7 separate regions of the Homo sapiens genome follow, and regions 1, 3, 4, 5, 6 and 7 are each linked to region 2. The links are contacts of gene promoters, found by promoter capture Hi-C in blood cells and fetal thymus (Javierre and others, 2016). All regions are on one chromosome and are shown on one strand. Each heading gives the region's core, a stretch centred on a gene start or on the middle of the fragment in contact. The rest is flanking DNA. Distances are from core to core; before and after follow the strand shown. Region 1 overlaps IRAK1BP1 (interleukin 1 receptor associated kinase 1 binding protein 1). Region 2 holds the start of LCA5 (lebercilin LCA5). Region 3 overlaps IRAK1BP1 (interleukin 1 receptor associated kinase 1 binding protein 1). Region 4 overlaps LOC107986613 (a long non-coding RNA gene). Region 5 overlaps PHIP (PHIP subunit of CUL4-Ring ligase complex). Region 6 overlaps PHIP (PHIP subunit of CUL4-Ring ligase complex). Region 7 overlaps PHIP (PHIP subunit of CUL4-Ring ligase complex).

What was found. Contacts are between HindIII fragments. The CHiCAGO score rates a contact against its expected background, and 5 or more counts as called.
Region 1: a contact is called between a fragment that was not itself captured here and the fragment with the promoter of LCA5 in region 2, in 4 of 17 cell types (megakaryocytes, total B cells, M2 macrophages and 1 more). The highest score is 6.1, in megakaryocytes.
Region 3: a contact is called between a fragment that was not itself captured here and the fragment with the promoter of LCA5 in region 2, in 3 of 17 cell types (monocytes, M2 macrophages and M1 macrophages). The highest score is 6.5, in monocytes.
Region 4: a fragment that was not itself captured here is called in contact with the fragment with the promoter of LCA5 in region 2 in 4 of 17 cell types (fetal thymus, erythroblasts, naive B cells and 1 more); the score reaches 7.3 in fetal thymus.
Region 5: a contact is called between a fragment that was not itself captured here and the fragment with the promoter of LCA5 in region 2, in 6 of 17 cell types (megakaryocytes, erythroblasts, endothelial precursors and 3 more). The highest score is 14.9, in megakaryocytes.
Region 6: a fragment that was not itself captured here is called in contact with the fragment with the promoter of LCA5 in region 2 in 1 of 17 cell types (erythroblasts); the score reaches 5.6 in erythroblasts.
Region 7: a contact is called between a fragment that was not itself captured here and the fragment with the promoter of LCA5 in region 2, in 2 of 17 cell types (megakaryocytes and erythroblasts). The highest score is 6.3, in megakaryocytes.

Annotation. Positions count from the first base shown.
Region 1 is chr6:78,880,004-78,882,703 of GRCh38, reverse strand. All of the region lies in intron 1 of IRAK1BP1 (interleukin 1 receptor associated kinase 1 binding protein 1), which reads right to left. Among named protein-coding and RNA genes, the nearest start is that of IRAK1BP1, 14 kb to the right of the region's middle. The HindIII fragment of the contact is 231 bases long and covers 1,202-1,432 here.
Region 2 is chr6:79,535,995-79,538,694 of GRCh38, reverse strand. LCA5 (lebercilin LCA5) reads left to right here and starts at 1,265. Exons shown (of 8, transcript NM_001122769.3): 1 at 1,265-1,530. It also overlaps a transcript of SH3BGRL2 not described here. RefSeq lists enhancers at 1-221, 752-801, 796-1,369. The HindIII fragment of the contact is 3,782 bases long and covers 307-2,700 here.
Region 3 is chr6:78,896,574-78,899,273 of GRCh38, reverse strand. IRAK1BP1 (interleukin 1 receptor associated kinase 1 binding protein 1) reads right to left here. Exons shown (of 4, transcript NM_001010844.4): 3 at 1,315-1,445; 4 at 1-1,210. The coding sequence ends at 940. Among named protein-coding and RNA genes, the nearest start is that of IRAK1BP1, 30 kb to the right of the region's middle. The HindIII fragment of the contact is 6,600 bases long and covers 1-2,700 here.
Region 4 is chr6:78,851,610-78,854,309 of GRCh38, reverse strand. All of the region lies in intron 1 of LOC107986613 (a long non-coding RNA gene), which reads left to right. Among named protein-coding and RNA genes, the nearest start is that of IRAK1BP1, 15 kb to the left of the region's middle. The HindIII fragment of the contact is 698 bases long and covers 960-1,657 here.
Region 5 is chr6:78,968,603-78,971,302 of GRCh38, reverse strand. PHIP (PHIP subunit of CUL4-Ring ligase complex) reads left to right here. Exons shown (of 40, transcript NM_017934.7): 25 at 415-522; 26 at 1,130-1,254; 27 at 1,386-1,468. It also overlaps a transcript of IRAK1BP1 not described here. Among named protein-coding and RNA genes, the nearest start is that of IRAK1BP1, 100 kb to the right of the region's middle. RefSeq lists an enhancer at 1-89. The HindIII fragment of the contact is 989 bases long and covers 790-1,778 here.
Region 6 is chr6:78,990,571-78,993,270 of GRCh38, reverse strand. It overlaps PHIP (PHIP subunit of CUL4-Ring ligase complex), which reads left to right. Exons shown (of 40, transcript NM_017934.7): 20 at 2,286-2,403. Among named protein-coding and RNA genes, the nearest start is that of PHIP, 86 kb to the left of the region's middle. The HindIII fragment of the contact is 3,230 bases long and covers 1-2,700 here.
Region 7 is chr6:79,011,878-79,014,577 of GRCh38, reverse strand. The region is part of intron 15 of PHIP (PHIP subunit of CUL4-Ring ligase complex); the gene reads left to right. All of the region lies in intron 1 of LOC124901346 (a long non-coding RNA gene), which reads right to left. Among named protein-coding and RNA genes, the nearest start is that of PHIP, 65 kb to the left of the region's middle. The HindIII fragment of the contact is 7,812 bases long and covers 1-2,700 here.

The sequences.
Region 1 (2,700 bases), core at 68-2,567, 660 kb after region 2:
CTCCTTAGTCTCCTCTGGTCTCTTGATAGTTTCTCAGTCTTCCTTTGTTTTTCATGACCTTGAAAGTTTTGGTCATGTATTTTGCAGAATGTCCCTCATTTTGACATTGATGTTTTCTCATGATTAGACTAGAGTTATAAATTTTAGGAAAGAATACCATAGAGGTGAAATGCCTTTTTAATCACAACACATCAGGCAGTACATGGTATCCACATGACACTACTCCAAATACTAATACTGGTCACTTGGGTAAAGTAGTGTTTGCCAGTTTCCTCCACTGTAAAGTTACTATTTTCCCCTTTCCATACTTTATTAATTGGAAGCATGTCACTAAGTGCAGCCCACACTCACTCAATAAATACTACTTTATTTCTTTTGTTGCTCAATTGTTCTAGCTTTGGCCATTGGGACTTCTTTCAGGTTGGCTCCTTTATCTGTTTGACATACCCCTTTCCTTTACTTTTTGAGCACTTTCTTACTTTCTGTTGCAAGATATTATAGGCTTATGCAGTTTCCTTGCCCCAGTCCTAGAATAAGCCCTTTCTCCAAGAAGCATAGTACCTTTTCTTTGAGATTTATGTAGAACCAAGATCTGAATGCTGAGACTGCTCACTGCTATTGGGGTGTCATTCCTTCTAGGCTCTCTCAGTGGACAGAGCTAGGTTACATATATATATGCATAGACATATATATACGCACACAGATACTAACTTACATGTAAAATTTTCTGTATTTTTCCACCTGTACAATATACAAAGGTAAACATGAGTTCACACTGATGTTTTCAACTCTAATCCTGAATCACAGAATTCATTTTAACCTTCCATTTTTATCTGTAACTTCCCTCTCTGATAGTGAGAAACCTGGCTCCCACCATCCACTATCCACTTATTTATTTGTTTAACCCCAGTATATACATGTAAAGCACTTTCAGACTTATTAACAAATACCCCTTTGGAAAACTTATTTACCAACTAGAGCATGGAGTTTTTGTATCTTTATTCTTCATCCTTATAATTTCCAGTCAAAACACCATTTTCCAGTAATTTAGGACAGTCCCTGCCCCTATCACCTTAAGCACAGTTATGTCACTCATTTGTAAGAACTGGGTTCATTTGTCAAGAGAATAAATTTTATCCTGGGATTGATCCTGTGATAGGCTCTTTGATGCCTTTTTCCTCCAGTTTACATACATCAAGCTTCACTATTTGTGATTTACAGCTCTATGAGGTTTGACAAATGCATAAAGTCATGTATGTACCACTCCAGTACCATAAAGAATAGTTCTTTCACCTTAAAAATTTCTCCGTGCATCTCTTTTAGTCAACCACTTTGCCCTCCAACAGATTGTTAACCACTAATCTGTTTTCGTTCCCCATAGTTTTGCTTTTCTCCAGAAGATCATATGAATAGAATCATAAAATTCAAAGCTTTTGGGTCTGGCTTCTTTCACTGACTAATATGCAGCTAAATTCACTCACATTGTTTTGTGAATCAATTCTCATTCCTTTTTATTGCTGAATAATATTCTTTTGCATGGATGTACCACAATTTTTTTAATCCATGCCACTGCTGAAAGACATCTTGGCTGCTTCCAGTTTTAGAAGTTATGAATAAAGCTGCTATAAACATTTGTGTACAGATTCTTATATGTACTTACGTTTTCAATTCACTTCGGCAAATTATCCTAGAATGCTGACTTCTATGGTAAGTCTATATTTAACTTATAAGAAACTATAAGACTACCTTCCAAAGTGGCCATATAATTTTGCAATCTCACCAGCAATGAACGAGAATTCCTGTTGCTCTGTATCCTTCCCAGCATTTGGTATCAGTGTTACTGTATTTAAGCCATTCTAATAGGTACATAGCAGTATTTCATTGTGGTTTTATTTTCCATTTCCCTATTGACAAGTAATGTTGAGTATCTTTTCATGTGCCTATTTGCCATCTGTATAAGTTCCTTGGCGAAGTGTCTGTTAAGATCTTTTGTGCATTTTTATTGAGCTGTTTGTTACTGCTGAATTGAGGTCTATATATGTTCTTGATACAAGTCCTTCATCAGCTATGTAATTTACAAATATTTTCTCCCAGTCTATAGACTGACTTTTCATTTTCTTAACAGATACAAGTCCTTTATCAGCTATGTAATTTACAAATATTTTCTCCCAGTCTATAGATTGACTTTTCATTTTCTTAACAATGTTTTTCACAAAGTGAGTTTTTAATTGTCATAAAATACAATTTATCTTTTTGTTTGTTTCATGGACTGTGCTTTTTGGTAACACAGGTTGAGCATCCTAAATGTGAAAATCCAAAATTCGAAAAGCTCAAAAATTCAAAACTTGTTTTTAAGCACAAACATGATGCTCAAAGAAAATGCTCTTTGGAGAATTTTGAATTTTAGATTTTTGGATTTGGGATATTCAATCATTAAGTATATAATGCAAATATTCCAAAATAAAAATCTGAAATCTGAAACATTTCTGGTCCCAACATTTCAGATAAGGGATACTCAACCTCTGTATCTAAAAACTCATCTTCAATCCCAAGGTCACATAGATTTTCTCCTTTTCTTTTTTTCTAGAAGTTTTGTGTTTTACTGTTGGGAAAGGCAATCTCATGCTATAGTCTTTTGATCTACACTCAACTGCCCAGGAATGGGCTGTGGCCCTGGAACACTTGCTTACTAAGAGATAA
Region 2 (2,700 bases), core at 16-2,515:
TGTTTTCTGATTCTTCCTAGCAACTTCCTTTATAAGTAATCCACCCATACATTTACATGTTAATTCTAACAGAGTCCATAATAACGAGTGAGCTATTTTAACAGTGTCAGCAGAGACAGATTAAAGAATTGATGAAAAGTAATTCCGTGCAATTTAGGGATTACTCATCTTATTTTCACTAACAGATGACTGCCATCTTGTACAGATGTATTTCGCATACAGAAAATTACATTTAATCACAATATTGTTTGGGTGGGTTAGTCTGTAACTTGAAGTAAAATGTATTGACAGGATAAAATGAAAGCTTTGAAACAGTGCAAAGGTGGAAAAACGAGGTTGAGCGAGAAGCAGGAATTACCAATCTTCATGGTTAGAAGATTCATTAAACGCATTTGCCTTCAAATATTAGATTCTCTACAGAATGGTGGTAAAAAGGCCAGTGAGAAATTAACAATAGTGAGAACACCAGAGTAGTGTTAAACCACCTTGATAATCAGATGGCTCGGAGCAGTTTAAAGCCCTCACGAAAGAGGATTTTTTTTTACCTTCCCTGTCTCCCGCAATTAATGCCATTTCTAAAAGAGAAAATATGTCACACATCAGCGCTCAATAGGCTGACATGCTCCTCAAAACGTTCCTTAAAAAAAAAAAAAAAAAAAAAAAAAAAAAAAAAAAACTTGTGTGCAAATATTTCAGATGCCATTCCACCCCAAACCCGTTCCAAAACCTAAAAATCACTTTCAAGCCAAACTCACGGCTCGTTGGTGATTCACAGCCAGGATCTCGAGGCAGGAACAATAGTGCACTCACCCCGCATCCTCCTGAATCAGCCATTTCGGTAAGAAGATCCAGAAGCACTAGCAGTTTGTTTGTAATTTGTTTACAATTTAAAAGCAAGTTATTTCCCAAAGGAAATCTAAGCAATTGTTAAGTGTTTTACATTACGCAGTCGCCAATTTTACAATTCATATCATGAACCCACTTTGCCCTCCGCCCGCGTCCCTCTCGGAGCCCACGACGCTCAGCAGTCGAGCCCTGGCACCGCACAGCCCGTAGGAGCCTGGAGCGCTCCGCGTTTTGCCCCAATTTCCCTACTTGGGGGTCTCCGCTACAGCTAGAGCGGTCGGCCAATGGAGACCTTCTCCCGCACTCGCCGTCCCGCCTTCCAGTTCCACTGAAGCCAATAAAAAGGGCCGTCTGGAGACAGAAGCCAATGGGAGCTCGGGTAGAGTCATCATGATTGGCTGCGGTCTCTTCGTAGTGCAGTCTAGGCCTCCGCCTCCGTTACCCTGGAGCCCAGGTTACCGCCGCTGCCACCCAGGAGCCCCGATCCTCGCCTCTGTCCCATCCTTGTGTTCAAACCTCCCGCATCTCGGCAACCTCGGCACCCGCCCGGCAGCCTCCGCAGGAACCAGGCACCCGCTCTTTGGCGGTCAGACGCCGAGGCCCCAGCTGGGAGTTTGGTCCTAAGAGGGAAGGCAAGGAGGCGGGACGCCGCATCGGCTCTGCTGAAGAGCCTGCGGGTTGGAGGTGGGCTTTGAAGTGGGCGTGGAGACGGCGGGGGAGGTGGAGGTGCGAGGTGAGGCTGGGTTGAAGCGTCTGGTAGCTAGTGAAGGGGCGTTCGTGGATGGGGGCCTGCGGGTGGTTCTTAAAGCAGGGAAGATGAAGGGATTAGGGATGGGGGAGGATGTAGGGACCGCGAGGAGAAGGAAGACCTAGGAAAATGAGTAAAGAGCTCGGCTTCTGAGAGGGTCCCGAGGAAGGGAGGTTGACCGGCACTGGGGGGACTGGGAAGTTAGGAGGAGAGGAGCTGGGAAAGGGTATTTACTTCCTGGGACCGAGAAGAGAAGAAAGGGAGCAAGCGGATCTAGAGAAGTGGTTGTTATTAAAACAAACAAAACAAAAACCCCGGAGGCCCGTGGAGACTCAAGACTAGAGAGGAGGGGCAGGGCCAAGGGCCAAGACGGAAAAGGAGGCTTTGGTAGCTCTCGGATAATAATAGATGTGTTATTATTAAAACTGTGGTTAGAGTGGAAAGCCGTACTTGTCCAGGCTGTGATACTTCTATACATCCTTCAGGGATGGGATGAGAGGAGTAAAGATGGTTAGAAATAAAAGAAAAAAGAAAGTGCCTTTTTGGCATACTCGAGTTGGAGTCGGTACTCAGATACGTGATGTTTACGTTAGATAGACCGTGGGATAGTGTTTAACAGTGAAGAGCCCTGGTCCAGTTCATCTGATATAAACCCCTTTTTTGTTCACTTTGTTCTTTGGAAAGTATACTTGGGCACATACATATTTATTCCCCTCCTTTATCTTCACGTTAAGAACTTGCATTAGAGATATCTTTGCAATCAGAAGTCATCATTTAGTTTTTGGCAGAGGGAGTGGCTATATGTGTTTTAGAATGGTAAAACCGATGTTTCCAGTTCTTTACTCATTCCCTCTTTCTTTTGCATGGTTATTTTAATCTATGTTTTTTTCCAGTTGTTCCACATTTAAATTCTATATTACCATTTTAAATATTTCACTTTGTGATTTCCCATGTTAGCTAGTATGTTTATCCAAATAAGTTATAGGAAATAATAGTTTGTTTTGATTCTCTAAGTTGACAAAGTATCATTTTAAATATCAAAAAGTAGTTTGTGACTTTGGAAAAGAGATTTTTCTTCTTTTGTGAGTCACATCTCTTCCGTTACA
Region 3 (2,700 bases), core at 173-2,672, 640 kb after region 2:
TATTGCTGGGTGTGGCAAGCATGAAAGACCTTGGCTGTTCTTTACCTGGGCCATTTCTCAGTATTGAGTTTTGAGTGAGCATCTATAAGGGATGAGGCAAAGAGCAGGTTTGCTTCTGTTCATGGATAAAAAGCAGTGAACCCTCCAAGCTCAGTATTCTTTACCTACAACAAAAGCCTGCTGTATATGTAGCCATATTGCATATGGCCATATCATTTTGCCCCCATGGGACCTGGGACAAGGGGAAGCAATGAGAATGTGCTGATGCTCATGCTCCTTGTTGTGCCATGAGTAATAGTCCTTTGTTTCTGTCTGGGAATCTCAAGTCTTCTGTTAGCATCCATGAAGAAGTAACAGGGTAACTACTTAGCTTCTAACTAAAGTAAAATTAAATATCAGACCTGACAGGATGCACTTAAAATTATGTATTTATACTCATTTTTAGTTGTGGAAAATTATTAGGTTTGATGGGATATAGGAATTCTTTTCCATAAAAATTTTGTCTTACAATTTAAAAAATTTAGCTAACTTATTGAAGCCTAGTTTTTACATAAAATTTGGTTTTATATAAAAATGTGGCTGAGAAAATTTTAGCTTAAATATCTTTAAAAATTATGAAATGCAAGGGTCAATATCTGTCCTTATAATAGAAATATTACACATGTGCTTGTATGAACTGTCAGTATATAAGTATGCACATAATACATTTATTATCCAAGAGTGTTTTTCAGAGTAGTCTTTTAAAAATAGAAAGTGAACATAAGTATTCTGTGGGACTATATTCAAAGATTTATAGATTTTGGAAAGAAATAGCTTATCTCCTATACCATATATATATATATATATATATATATATATATATTCAGGACAAACGTAAACATTATAAAAAGTATAAAAATAGGTAAAAAGATACAAGTACAATATAATTTGTTTGGAATTTCAAAGGTGCTTTTTTCTCTTCTCTTTTCCCTTTACCTCAAAAGTTATAAATACTTTTGAAGCAGCATGTATTGTTGCACTTTTGATTTTTTGTTGTACAGTTAATGAACTTGAGAGTCTGGATGACTGGTGATCATCTATTTGGCCTTCCCATTCTTTTGTTTCTTCTTCTTTGATTAGTAAAGGTTTTCCTAAGGTTTGGCCAACAAGGTTACAGACTTCTTGAGCTTTGCGCCACGCATTCTCAACAGCAACAAGACAGGCTTGCCGTCTTAGGAATTAAATGGAGAGATTATTAATATGACACTCAATGAAATGTAGCACTGGATAGTTTTGTTTAAAGAATATCTTAGTTAAAGATGTGCTTAAACTTACCGAAGATTCTCAACAGAACCTGGAGTATGATAGAACTGGGGTGGGCTGATGACAACAGAGCTATCTAGCTTTTCAACAAGAAAGTTACAAATATTTTGCATTTTTCCAAATTCAGTAAATGTAATGCAGACCTGTAAATGAAATGACACGATATTATTTTCATGTCTGATGTACTGTTTCAAGATTTTCTCTACATGTAAGTAAAAAAAGTATAGCCAGACTATGAGGTCATTTTATAGTATGTAACAGATTTTTAAAAGCCTATTTGATACTTATAACTAAATTATTTTGTTCTTTAAGATTTTTGCTTTTGAATTTTCAAATTTATCTAATATTGTCTTGAATATTAAAAAACTTATATTTTAAACCAGGGATTTTTAAATGAAATTGAAGGAGTTTCCCTTAAACCTTATTACTTGGCTAAATTTTAATCCTGATAACTAGCATGATTCCTTTGTCTAATCAATGCCCTTAGCTTCCTGATTAGTAGTAATCATGCCATACTTCACTGCTATCATTGAGAAATGTTTCTTCTTCCAATAGTTCTGTTCAGATCTATATGTGGAAGCTAATGTATTTCACTCTGTCTTCTGCCTTTAAATATGTGGAAGCAGTCCTTATATTCGGCAATACTTTAAAACCGGTCTGTTAAGTCTTCAATGAAGGGAACTAAACCTTGTCTTTTTTTTTTTTTTTTTTTTTTAAGAGAGACAAGATCTTGCTACGTTGCCCAGGCTGGAGTGCACTGGCATTATCATAGCTCACTGCAGCCTCAAACTCCTGGGTTCAAGCGATCCTCCTACCTCAGCCTTCCAAGTAGGAAGGGCTACAGGCATGCACCACCATGCCCAGCTAATTAAAAAAATTTTTTTTGTAGAGGTGGAGTCTCACTATGTTCCCCAAGCTGGTCTCAAACTCCTGGCCTCAAGCAATCCTCCCACCTTAGCGGTTGTAGACATGAGACACCACACGCAGCCTAAACCTTTTCTTCTAAAGAACCCTTAACACAAGGTCAATATGCAAAACAAAATACAGATACTACAGAATAAGCTGGAGTAGCAGAGAGAGACATAAGATAACCTCACCTTATACAATGCAGAACATCTGTCTTTAATCATAATTTTTTTTTTTTTTTGAGCCAGGGTCTCTTTCTGTTTTCCTGGCTGGAGTGCAGTGGTGTGATCACGGGCTCACTGCAGCCTCAACCCCTGGGTTCAGATGATCCTCCTGCCTCAGCCCCCCGAGTAGCTGGGACTACCGGAACGTGCCACCATGCCTAGTGAATTATATCACTTTTGAAAAAGGTATAGAACTTTGTAACCACCATAACAAAAATTTAGACCTGTTCCAACACCCCTAAAAATTCTCTCAGGTAACTCCTTTATC
Region 4 (2,700 bases), core at 59-2,558, 680 kb after region 2:
TCTACAGCTGTGATGGTTTAGCATTTATATGGAATATGTTCTGCTACCTCAGATAATGGGAATACAATTGATCTAGGAGCCTAGGAGGGCTAGAAGCAAGGAGCCAGCAAGTCTAGACACATTCCAGAGGCCATTATGTCAGACATGCAAGCCCTGCCTCAGTTTCTTTTCCCAACACTCAGCTTTTTCCCAACAGTGCATGTCTGTAATCCCAGCTACTTGAGTGGCTGAAGCAGAAGAATTGCTTGAACCCAGGAGATGGAGGTTGCAGTGAGCCAAGATCATGCCACTGCACTGTAGCTTAGGCGACAGAGTGAGACCTGGTCTTTAAAAAATTAATAAAAATAAAAAACACGGTCCAATTTAAAAAAAGTAAAGTTTACTAATTAAAGCATGTTTTTAAACCAGCATTGTGTTTTTAAAAGGCAAAGGCATTTAGAGTAAAATGGCCTGCATTTTTAAGATTGGTGAGCTGTGTAATTCATCTCTTGTGAGGCCCAGTTGCTTTATTTTTTTATTTTTTATTTTTTTTTTGAGACAGAGTCTTGCTCTGTCACCAGGCTGGAGTGCAGTGGCACGATCTTGGCTCACTGTAACCTCCGCCTCCCAGGTTCAAGTGATTCTCCTGCCTCAGCCTCCTGAGTAGCTGGGACTACAGGTGTGCACCACCATACCCAGCTAATTTTTTTTTTGTATTTTTAGTAGAGACAGAGTTTCACCATGTTGGCCATGATGGTCTTGATCTCTTGACCTCGTGATCTGCCTGCCTTGGCTTCACAAAGTGCTGGGATTACAGGTGTAAGCCACTGCACCCGGCCTGCTTTATCGTTTATGTGTGTATATACATATATATTTATATATATATTTAATGGGCCAAAAATATTATGAACCAGTGGTACTAGAGTTCCACTTAGGGAACTGGGCACTGTCTTCATTTAGAAAAAATGCCTTGATAAGCTTATCTGAGTGTGGAAGGTGAGGCCTTGAGTGTGAGTTCTAGAAGGTGATTGCAATACAAAGAACTAAACAGTTGTGTACAAAGAAATGAATAGAGATGTGGGAGGAGAAATGCCAGAAAGAGAAGGGGGAGGAATTAGAGAAAAGGCCATGCAAGATAGATAGGAGGCTGAATCCTGTGGAGAAGGAGACAAATGCCTTGATAGCAATAGTGGCCATAACTTTAAAGACCACAGAAGTCTAATTTACAATGTTTAGTTGTTGGCATCTTGGCAATGTAACAACATGACTGTGTTGCATTGTGATTTGGGAGAAATCAAGGAAAGAAGCTATGTGTATAACAAAGATAAGGAGCATCTGCAAAGGGCAAGATATGTGAGATCAAGAGTTCAGCAAAAGTGGAAGACACAGTCAATTATGAGAAAGCAAGTCCATAGGATTAAGAACAATGGAATTTCCCACAGGAGCCTGTCTCAGAGGATGAGATTCCAGTTGACAGATCAGATAACTGGATTGACAGAATGGTTGTGCAGATATTTAAAGGTTTGCAGCACAGTGCTTGACACGTGGCAGTAAAAACTTAACGCACTCAACTTCAATGGTCTTGTATAGTCTGGCATCACAACTTTTGGAGCTGAGACAGCCTTAGCTTTGAGAATTATCTGAGCAATTAGTACAGAAGTTTTGATGGAACAAAGCTTTTCCATGATTTCTAACAAAGCATGGAGGAAAACTGCTTATCTGAAAATGCCATTCACCCAGTTAAGAGACAGTACCTGTTAGACAAAAAGATTTAACTGAAGTTGTGTGCCCATGAGGATAAAGTTATGACTTGTCATCTTTTTTCCCCAGACTTTTATGCTTCTCATACAAAGCATAAATTATACTTCTCATACAAAGCTAGAGAATATAATAAACTATAAGAACCATAGAAGATTGTCCGAAGGAGGCTTACATTAGATAAATAACATTCAGGGAATGACAATAGAACTGAAAAAGAAACTATATTCTCTCGGAAACATGTTCATAAAATTCAGTACATTCAAGAATACTGATTAATAAGATATAGAGGTGGATGAAGTGCTCCTGAGATGCAATGAATATAAAAATAGAGAAAAAACATAGAAAATGACTAGTAGTATCCTTGGATCAGCCCCTTTTCACAACCATAATCATTATTCTGTCATAGTCATAGTTTTCCTGTCTCTTTGCTTCCAGACTTTCCTTCCTGAACCAATTGTCTAATTCAGTGGCCACTAAAAGAGTTTTATCATTGGTATCAGCAATTTTGAGTCTAAAGTGATCTTTCATATCAAATTTAAGTTTCAAATCTGTGAACTTCAGGGTTTCCTATGAGTGGTTCCAGCACTTTTTACCTTACTGATCTTTTGATGTGCCTTGATTTCCATCTCATTTATAGCCAGATTAGTTTAATGATTTTCATATACACCTAACAATTTTATATACACTTCATAGCCAGCTCACTAGTCATCTGTCCAGAAGAAAATGTTCTAATTTCCTATTAGTCATTTCATGTTCTGTCCTTCCCCCATTATAATTAATTTTTGTTCACTCAGAAATATCAGGGATTAAATGATTCTGAATTTTTGGGCAATGTGGCTGATTTAATACAAGTAGTCTATGCAAATTATCAACATTGAATTATTTTATGATAGAATCTTTAATGATATTAAAACATAATGGAATTTCTGTTTTATAATAGAATCCTTAATGATAATGCTA
Region 5 (2,700 bases), core at 35-2,534, 570 kb after region 2:
TTGTGTAAGGATTAAAATATATGTGAAAGTACATTTTTCATTTCAATGTTTTCTGCATATGTACAAACTACTTGCTAAAAAAGTTAACAACAAAAGTGGACAATAAACTTATTAGTCAACGTTATTATGCAACATAGATTAACTTATTTTGATTTTAAGAATAAAATGGTGAAACCAGAAAATAACTTTTCATCTTAACTTATAAGTGTGTATTCAAAGTAATGTTATTTAGAACACTTTGGTTATGATTTAGTGATGTTAAGACAACTTGAGAGAAAGGAGGAGGGAGAAAATATTAGAATTTCTATTAGCTGAAAAGGCATTAGATTTTCTCTTTGCAATTTCAGCTGATACCCTGTATATTGGATTAAAGGAAACACATCCAGGTTGTAAGATTATGACTTTATTTTTTAGGTTTATTATTTCCGACAAGGACATGAAGCCTATGTCGAAATGGCCCGGAAAAATAAAATATATAGTATCAATCCCAAAAAACAACCATGGCATAAAATGGAGCTACGGGTATGACATTGATTTATTATTTAATAGCCCCAAAAATACAATTATGGAATTTGGAGAAAATTGTATCAAAGGTTACTATTAACACAATAAGAAACTGCATCATGAAGATACCTTGTTTAATTGAAGCAGTCCTAGAGAGTAGGAGGTGTTTAATTTTCATCCAGAGAAACACAAGATTTGACTGAATTTATATACTCCAATGCAGTTTATGGGTTGGGTACAAAATTTAGTTATAGTGAAAATTAGGTAATAAGTCTAAAGTAAGCTTTGTATTCGTAAATTTGATGCGTATTTCTAGATTTGTCATCAGTAGTTCAGTTACCAATAGGTCTTTGGAATGGTGATAGAAAACTTACTTTAGTAACTATACTTTAGTAAAGTTCTCCTTATTTTTTTTTCCTTTTTTACGTTTTAAAAATTTCATTGTAACTTGCATACTATAAAGTGCACAAATCTTAATACAGAGCTCAGTGAATTTTTACATGTACACAGTCATCACCATCCAGATCAAGATTTAAACCAAGAAGTTTTTTCTCAACAATGTTTAGCAGTCTATTTTGTGGTTTATTTTGTAAAGATGGTTCCTTATATTCTCTGTCTCTCTCAGGAACAAGAACTTATGAAAATAGTTGGCATAAAGTATGAAGTGGGATTACCTACCCTTTGCTGCCTTAAACTTGCTTTTCTAGATCCTGATACTGGTAAACTGACTGGCGGATCATTTACCATGAAGTAAGGACTGTTGAAAGAGGCAATGGTTTTCTTAGTATTGTAGATTGTTTTTCAAGATTCAGATACATTTGAACATCTTTTAGGTATTTTTAGGTATGTGACCTAATCAATTTGTTTCTGTTTGTAATTAGATACCATGATATGCCTGACGTTATAGATTTCCTAGTCTTGAGACAACAATTTGATGATGCAAAATACAGGCGATGGAATATAGGTGGGTAATTTATTTAGAAGCTATCGATGTTTGATGTGGTTTTTTTTTCTTAGTAAGTGATTTACTATTTTTCATAATTGAGAAAAAGATTATCAGAGAAATCTTTTTGCTATTTGTAGGAATGTTAATAGCAAAGTAAGATACTATGTCAGAGGTATTGTTAAGTTTTGTTTAGGAATGAAAACAGTCGATGTTGAAATTTAAAACATTTTTTCTGTTACATTTGACTTTATTTTCATGTTTTACATGTTAAGTTAAATTTTTGTATAAAAATATTAATAACAATTTAAATTTGAAGCCAAAAGAAGCTTAACAAGATGTATAAGTTTGTACTGGGACTAAAGCTAAACTGACATTTTTCTTTTATTGGTTAATCCTATTATAATCTTTAAAATTAGTATCATAAACAAGTCTCAAAGAAACTAAAATCTGTAAAAGTTTTCAGGCACTTAAGGTGCATTAATTTACATATAGATGATGTGCCACTTATGAGAGTAGTTCTCTTAAAAATTTCATATAGGACCAGTGTGTGTCATGGTATGATGTGTACACGGTATGTATGGTTTGAAAAAGCACATCAATTGATATACCAGTCTGTCCTTCAGTGCCACTAGAACGCATTGACATGGTGGTTTGTCCTTTGTTAAAAACTTGTATGTGCTCTGTAAGGAGAAATTAGGAAAATTTGGAAGCTATCAAAATTATGGACATGGAAGTTAGAAAGAAAATTTACATCTCATGTTCCATTTCCCTAGAAGTTTTGAAAGATGTGTTTCATCAAATAAGGGAGTAACCAAGAAAGGGAAAAGAATGGAATCCCCTCAGGAAACAGGAAGTCCAGAACAGGAAAAGTTAAAAGGAATCCCAAATAATATTCAGTAGAAGCCTCAGGATAGCAGCTACCTAGCAGGTCCAAATCTCCTTCAAGAGGAAAGTCTTCAGGGGGAAAAAATTGGAACACATAACTTATCTAACAAGTTTGTCTTTGTGGAAAATTACATTGAAGAATGTTTTTTACAGCTTGAGCTGTTAGAGATTGTGGGAAGATTTAATTGTAAATTCACTGAAAACCAAGCATTAAAAAAATGAAGCAATTATTAATTTTAGGGAAAACAAAATTATATAAGGAAGGAATTATATGCTGTTTTGCTTAGGAGCAAGCAGTATTTACACAGTCATGATTAAAAATTGAATATGGATTAAATATAATACACATACTTTTTATGCACAGT
Region 6 (2,700 bases), core at 182-2,681, 550 kb after region 2:
CACCCTACACTTTTATGTTACACAGGTAGTTCTTAGGCCTCATGAACCAACCTCTGCTAGCTTCCAACTTTTCTTCTGCAGCTTTTTCCCCTCTTCCAACCTTCATAGAAGAGAATAGAGTTAGAGCCTTGCTCTGGATTAGGCTTTGGCTTAAGGGAATGTTGTAGCTGGTTTAATCTTCTATCCAGACCGCAAAAACTATTTCTGTATCGGCAACAAGCCTGCTTCACTTTCATATCATTCCTGTGTTCACTGGAGTAGCATATTTAACTTCCTTCAAGAGCTTTTCCTTTTCATTGAAAACGTGGTTGTTGGGCACAAGAGGCATAGCTTTCAGCCTGTCTCAGATTTTGACATGCCTTTATCACAGAGTTTAATCGTTGCTACCTTTGATTTAAAGTGAGAGATGTTTTCACTGGATCAGTTAGGGTTTTTAATTGGCCTAACTTTAATATTGTTCTGTCTCAGGGAATAGTGAGGCCTGAGGAGAGGGAGAAGATGGGGCAATGGCTAGTTAGTGGAGCAGTCAGAACACACGTAACATTTGTCAGTTAAGTTCATTGTTCTATATAGGTGAGGTTCATGGTGCTTCAAAACAACTACAATAGAAGCATAAAAAATTACTGACAACAGATCTCCATAATAGATATAATGGTAGTGAAAAAGCCAGAAATATTTTAAGAATTACCAAAATGTGACACAGAGACACGAAGTTAGCATATGTGGTTGAAAAATGGCATTTGCTCATTGCAGGGTTCCACAAACTTGCAGCTTGTGAAAAAAAAAAATGCACTATCTGCAAAGCACAGTAAAACAATGTATGCCTGTGTACACACACACACAAACTAATAGAAACTAATAGAAGTAAAACTGGGGAAGTCTCAGTAAGATCAGTGGATTGTATAAATGTCAGCATCCTCCTTCTGATGTTGTACCATGTTTTACAAAATGTTACCATTTGGGGGAATTAGATAAAGGATACAAAGTTTTGCAAAATGTTACCATTTTGGGCCGGCGCGGTGGCTCACACCTGTAATCCCAGCACTTTGGGAGGCCGAGGTGGGGGGGATCACGAGGTCAGGAGATCGAGACCATCCTGGCTAGCACAGTGGACCCCCGTCTCTACTAAAAATACAAAAAATTAGCCGGGCGAGGTGGCGGACGCATGTAGTCCCAGCTACTCGGGAGGCTGAGGCAGGAGAATGGTGTGAACCCCGGGGGGCAGAGCCTGCAGTGAGCCGAGATCATGCCACTGCACTCCAGCCTGGGCGACAGCGAGACTCCATCTCAAAAAAAAAAAAAAAAAGTTACTATTTGGGGGAACTGGATAAAGGATACAAATAATCGCTGTTATTTCTTACAACTGTATGTTAATCTATAATTATTGCAGTAAAAAGTTTAATTTAAAAAAAAAAAATTAAGAACAAAAAAATTAAATCCAAGCCTGTTCTTTTCACAAGATTTAAATTTGCTCATTTTATTTTCCATTCAGAATTATGGCCAGCCACAATGGAGATTGTGCCGTTAAGTAACATGATAACATTAATATCATCTAGTAAAGAAATATCAACAGTATATAGTTGCACTGTGTTTTAGTATTAACTACCTTCTTATTATAAAATCTTAAGGGAGAATTAAATTTCAAATACCCTTGCATTTCAAAAACTTTAAAGTTGTAAGATATTGAAATAAAAAATAAAATTATCTTCTCATGAGTTCATTTTTTGTATTAAAGTTTAAAATTAGTGTTCCTCAATTTGTGTTGTTCAGTTTCACCTTGATGGTTTGAGTTTTTTCAGTCGGTGAAACCTGACCTCCCTGTCTCTGGAAAGAGTGTAGTTCTTTCAGGGCTTTCCGTGTAACCTCAGGGTCTGTTGTATTGAATTTTTAAAGAGATTCCAGCTATCTATATGGAACAGAAGATTATCAAAGCATAGGCCCTATCCTAAAAAAAAAAAAAAAAATCCAATTTCTCACTCTTGGAAAAATTACCCTAGGAATCACCACATTCCCAGAATCTAATACTTGGTTTGCCAGAGACCATAGCAGGAACCAGTAGTATCAAGTTGGGGTAGACAGAGTTTGTCTTTCCATTATTTCAGTCATTTAATGCCGGATGTCCTGAGCCCACAACCTATGAAATTAAACTTAGAAATCTTTATCACATGCTTCCATCTTAAAATAAAACATCAGGAGTAGCGTTCCTTTCCTGATACCTAACATTCCTTTTGGAGGAAAGTTATGTGTAAAATTCTAGATTAATGCATATGGCTTTTGTCTTTCAGTAGGCAAGAAGAATGGAGAACTGCAAAGGGAGAAGAAGAAATAAAGACTTACAGGTCAGAAGAGAAAAGAAAACACTTAACTGTTCCAAAAGAGAATAAAATACCCACTGTCTCAAAGGTACATATTAATTATTTTGATGTTTAATATTTGCTTCTTAAGTATAGTGACCATTTTAAGGCTCCATTTTGTAATTTAACATGGTATTATAAACAGGTTAATGATAAAAATTAACATAGTAAATCTTGGTTATCTCTGGATTATCTATTGTTTACTATTTAAAATTTTTAATTCCATTTCTGCTTTGTAGCATACCCTTTCCCAAAGTGCCAATTCTTACATACTCATGAAATTCTAATAAATTACACTGAAGCCTCATCAAGAACTTTCTTTAGCTCTTCATAATCTTGTGTGCCA
Region 7 (2,700 bases), core at 158-2,657, 520 kb after region 2:
TAACATAATTGGCCAAGTATTTGAATTACAATGTTTTAATATATCACATACAACTTACCGAGCAGTGTTTCTATTTACTGTATGAAGTATTAAGGTCTCCTCAACTACTGCAGTTTGTGTAGTCATATTTTTTAAATGTCTACTTTCTGTATATTAGAGATACCTTTCAACAAAGAACAAAAGAAAAAACAGTTTCCACTATTTCAGCATGTTTAAATTTTTTTAAAAAACCAATTATAGAAATCTTTAGTAATGAACCATAAAACAATACAATTAGTACATGTGGTCAGAATTATTTTGCCAAATAAATTATTTCACAAAACAGTTGTGAAACATGGTTTGTGAAAAAATTACACGAATGTGATGCTATGCTTGATTGATAATCAGAGTAAAGTTATTTCTATGTCGTGAGTAAGCAGATATAATAGCAGATTTTTTAGTGAGGGAAATAGCTTTAGCTATCTTTAAGGCTGTGCCTTAGAATACATTAGGTAAGAAATAAGGTTTGTAAAACCCTCTATTTCTAGAAAACAGTGTTAATTATTTGGTGTGCACTTGTTAGTGATGGATGGATTTCCTTTGTGATTGTATTGAGATTTTTTTAAAAAGCCACCTGTAAATATGCTAGTAAAAAATATTTTCTGCTTTTCTATCCTTGTGTTTCTGATTTGCTCCTTTTTGGAATATCTGTTGAATAAGGAAATTAGTCATTTCTCAATCTGTCTTTATAGCTTAAAAAAAATAATATGTGAGCTATATATATACTAGTGGCTTCATTTAGTAGTTTTGTATTTCCAAAGGACATTATTATATTGGTAGAGTGTTTGGAGGGAAACTTTTCTCCCATAATTGAATACCGCTTTAACTTTTCAGTTATATAAAGGTGAATTTTCCCTTATCAGGTAAGTTGGTCACACTAATATTCTACCTTTTCAGTAGATAACAAAAACTGCAGCACCTTGAGAGTTAAGTGATTTGCTCTTAGACCATTAAAAATTAGTAATGTAACCAGGAGTAGAAGTCAGCCATAATATATTGTATATTTTTAAAAATTAGCTGAGGGATTGGTTACATTACTGCCTTAAAAATTGTTTATTGTTAAATAAGAGTGTTAGATGAGGATATTTTTCTGGTTCTTTTTATGGATAAGAGATAGGAAAACTCTAAAGAGCAGAAGAAACAAATACATGTAATAAGTTGAATTGGATAGTATTCATAGAATTGCAGACAGTGAGCAAAACATAAACCAAAAAAGCTAAAAAACAGAAAGTGAGCCACCCTTCATCTCATTAAAATAAAGATACTACCTTTAATTTTTTGTATGATGTTTAATGGTTTCCAAAATGCTCCCACATATTTTACCTCCTTTGGGTCTCATGAAAACCTTGTAAGATGATCAAGATAGATTTTATTATTCTTGGTCTTAGGAATGGAGAAACTGTACATTACAGAGATAAAGTGCTTTGCCCCAATTTACTGAGTTCACACAGCTATTATGCGGGCACTTGGAGCATAAACCCATGACTCTGGTTGTACTCAAATCTTGTCATGGTTGGCTTTTTGAGCTTTTGTCAATGTTACTGCATAGCTAACTTTTAACAATACTCAGTTAGTGATATGTCTATGAAGAAATGTTTTCATAATGGTAATAAATCTGAGTGGATCTTTTGACATCTTACTCTTTAACTTGATTTTTTTTCCTGTCTGTCTTTTATGAGTTATCTAATTGCCCTAATTCTTTTTGCTCTTCACTCTTTTGTTCTTTTCATTGCTTGTTTTATTTATGGGCAAATGGAAGATAAAGCATCCAGCATTGCTATTAAGAAAATAAAGAGAAACAATTCGAGGGAGGGCCTGCGTTCTCACTGCTTGCTATCATGAATGTTGAGTTTTGGCTATAATTATAGCTATTTGGCTCTCTGTAGCTAATCAATAAGTTTTTCAGTTACTAAAATACCACGATACTTGATTGCATACAAATTTAATCCCTAATGTTAAGTTGTAGTAGTAATCACAAGTTCAGTTTAGTAAATATTTTTTGAGCACCATGTGAAGGGTCTAGTCATATATAGTGCTTTGGTCTATTAGAGGATGAAGAATTCTGGTGGAATACTCCTTTTTTGACTAGAAATGGTGAAAGTTATGTGAAGTATTTTTAAGATTAAATAATATTTCATGTGACTGTTAAAACTGAAGTTTATAAAACAGATAAGTAAACTCACCATTCCACCTACAGCTAGAAAATAAGGAATGTAGACTATACCTTTAGAATAACAGTTTTAGTACAAATTTCTTAAATACTGGTTTTTATCAAGTATATTTTAAGAATACTTTAATATTTCTCCTGCTTTTTGAATAATAATTGAATTTTCCATTGGAAATTTATACCTTTGCAAAAGATAATGGAAATCATGTAACATATAATTTAGTATTTTGTATTCATCAGCATTTTACTGCATTTTTTGTGTAATTATGGAAATGTAAATTCTTTTTTTGAAATTTTAGAAATAGCCAAAAATCCTGTTATGTTAAAAAGCCTTTCAAGTGAAAAGGTGAACTTTCAAATGCCTGTTTGATACATAGTAATTACATTTTAATAATTTTTAAATATAAGATTATAAAACATTAATATTTTAATATTGCACTGATAGTCATCATTGTAATAAGTATTCTAATTTTTTTCTGTATCAAGCCATGACT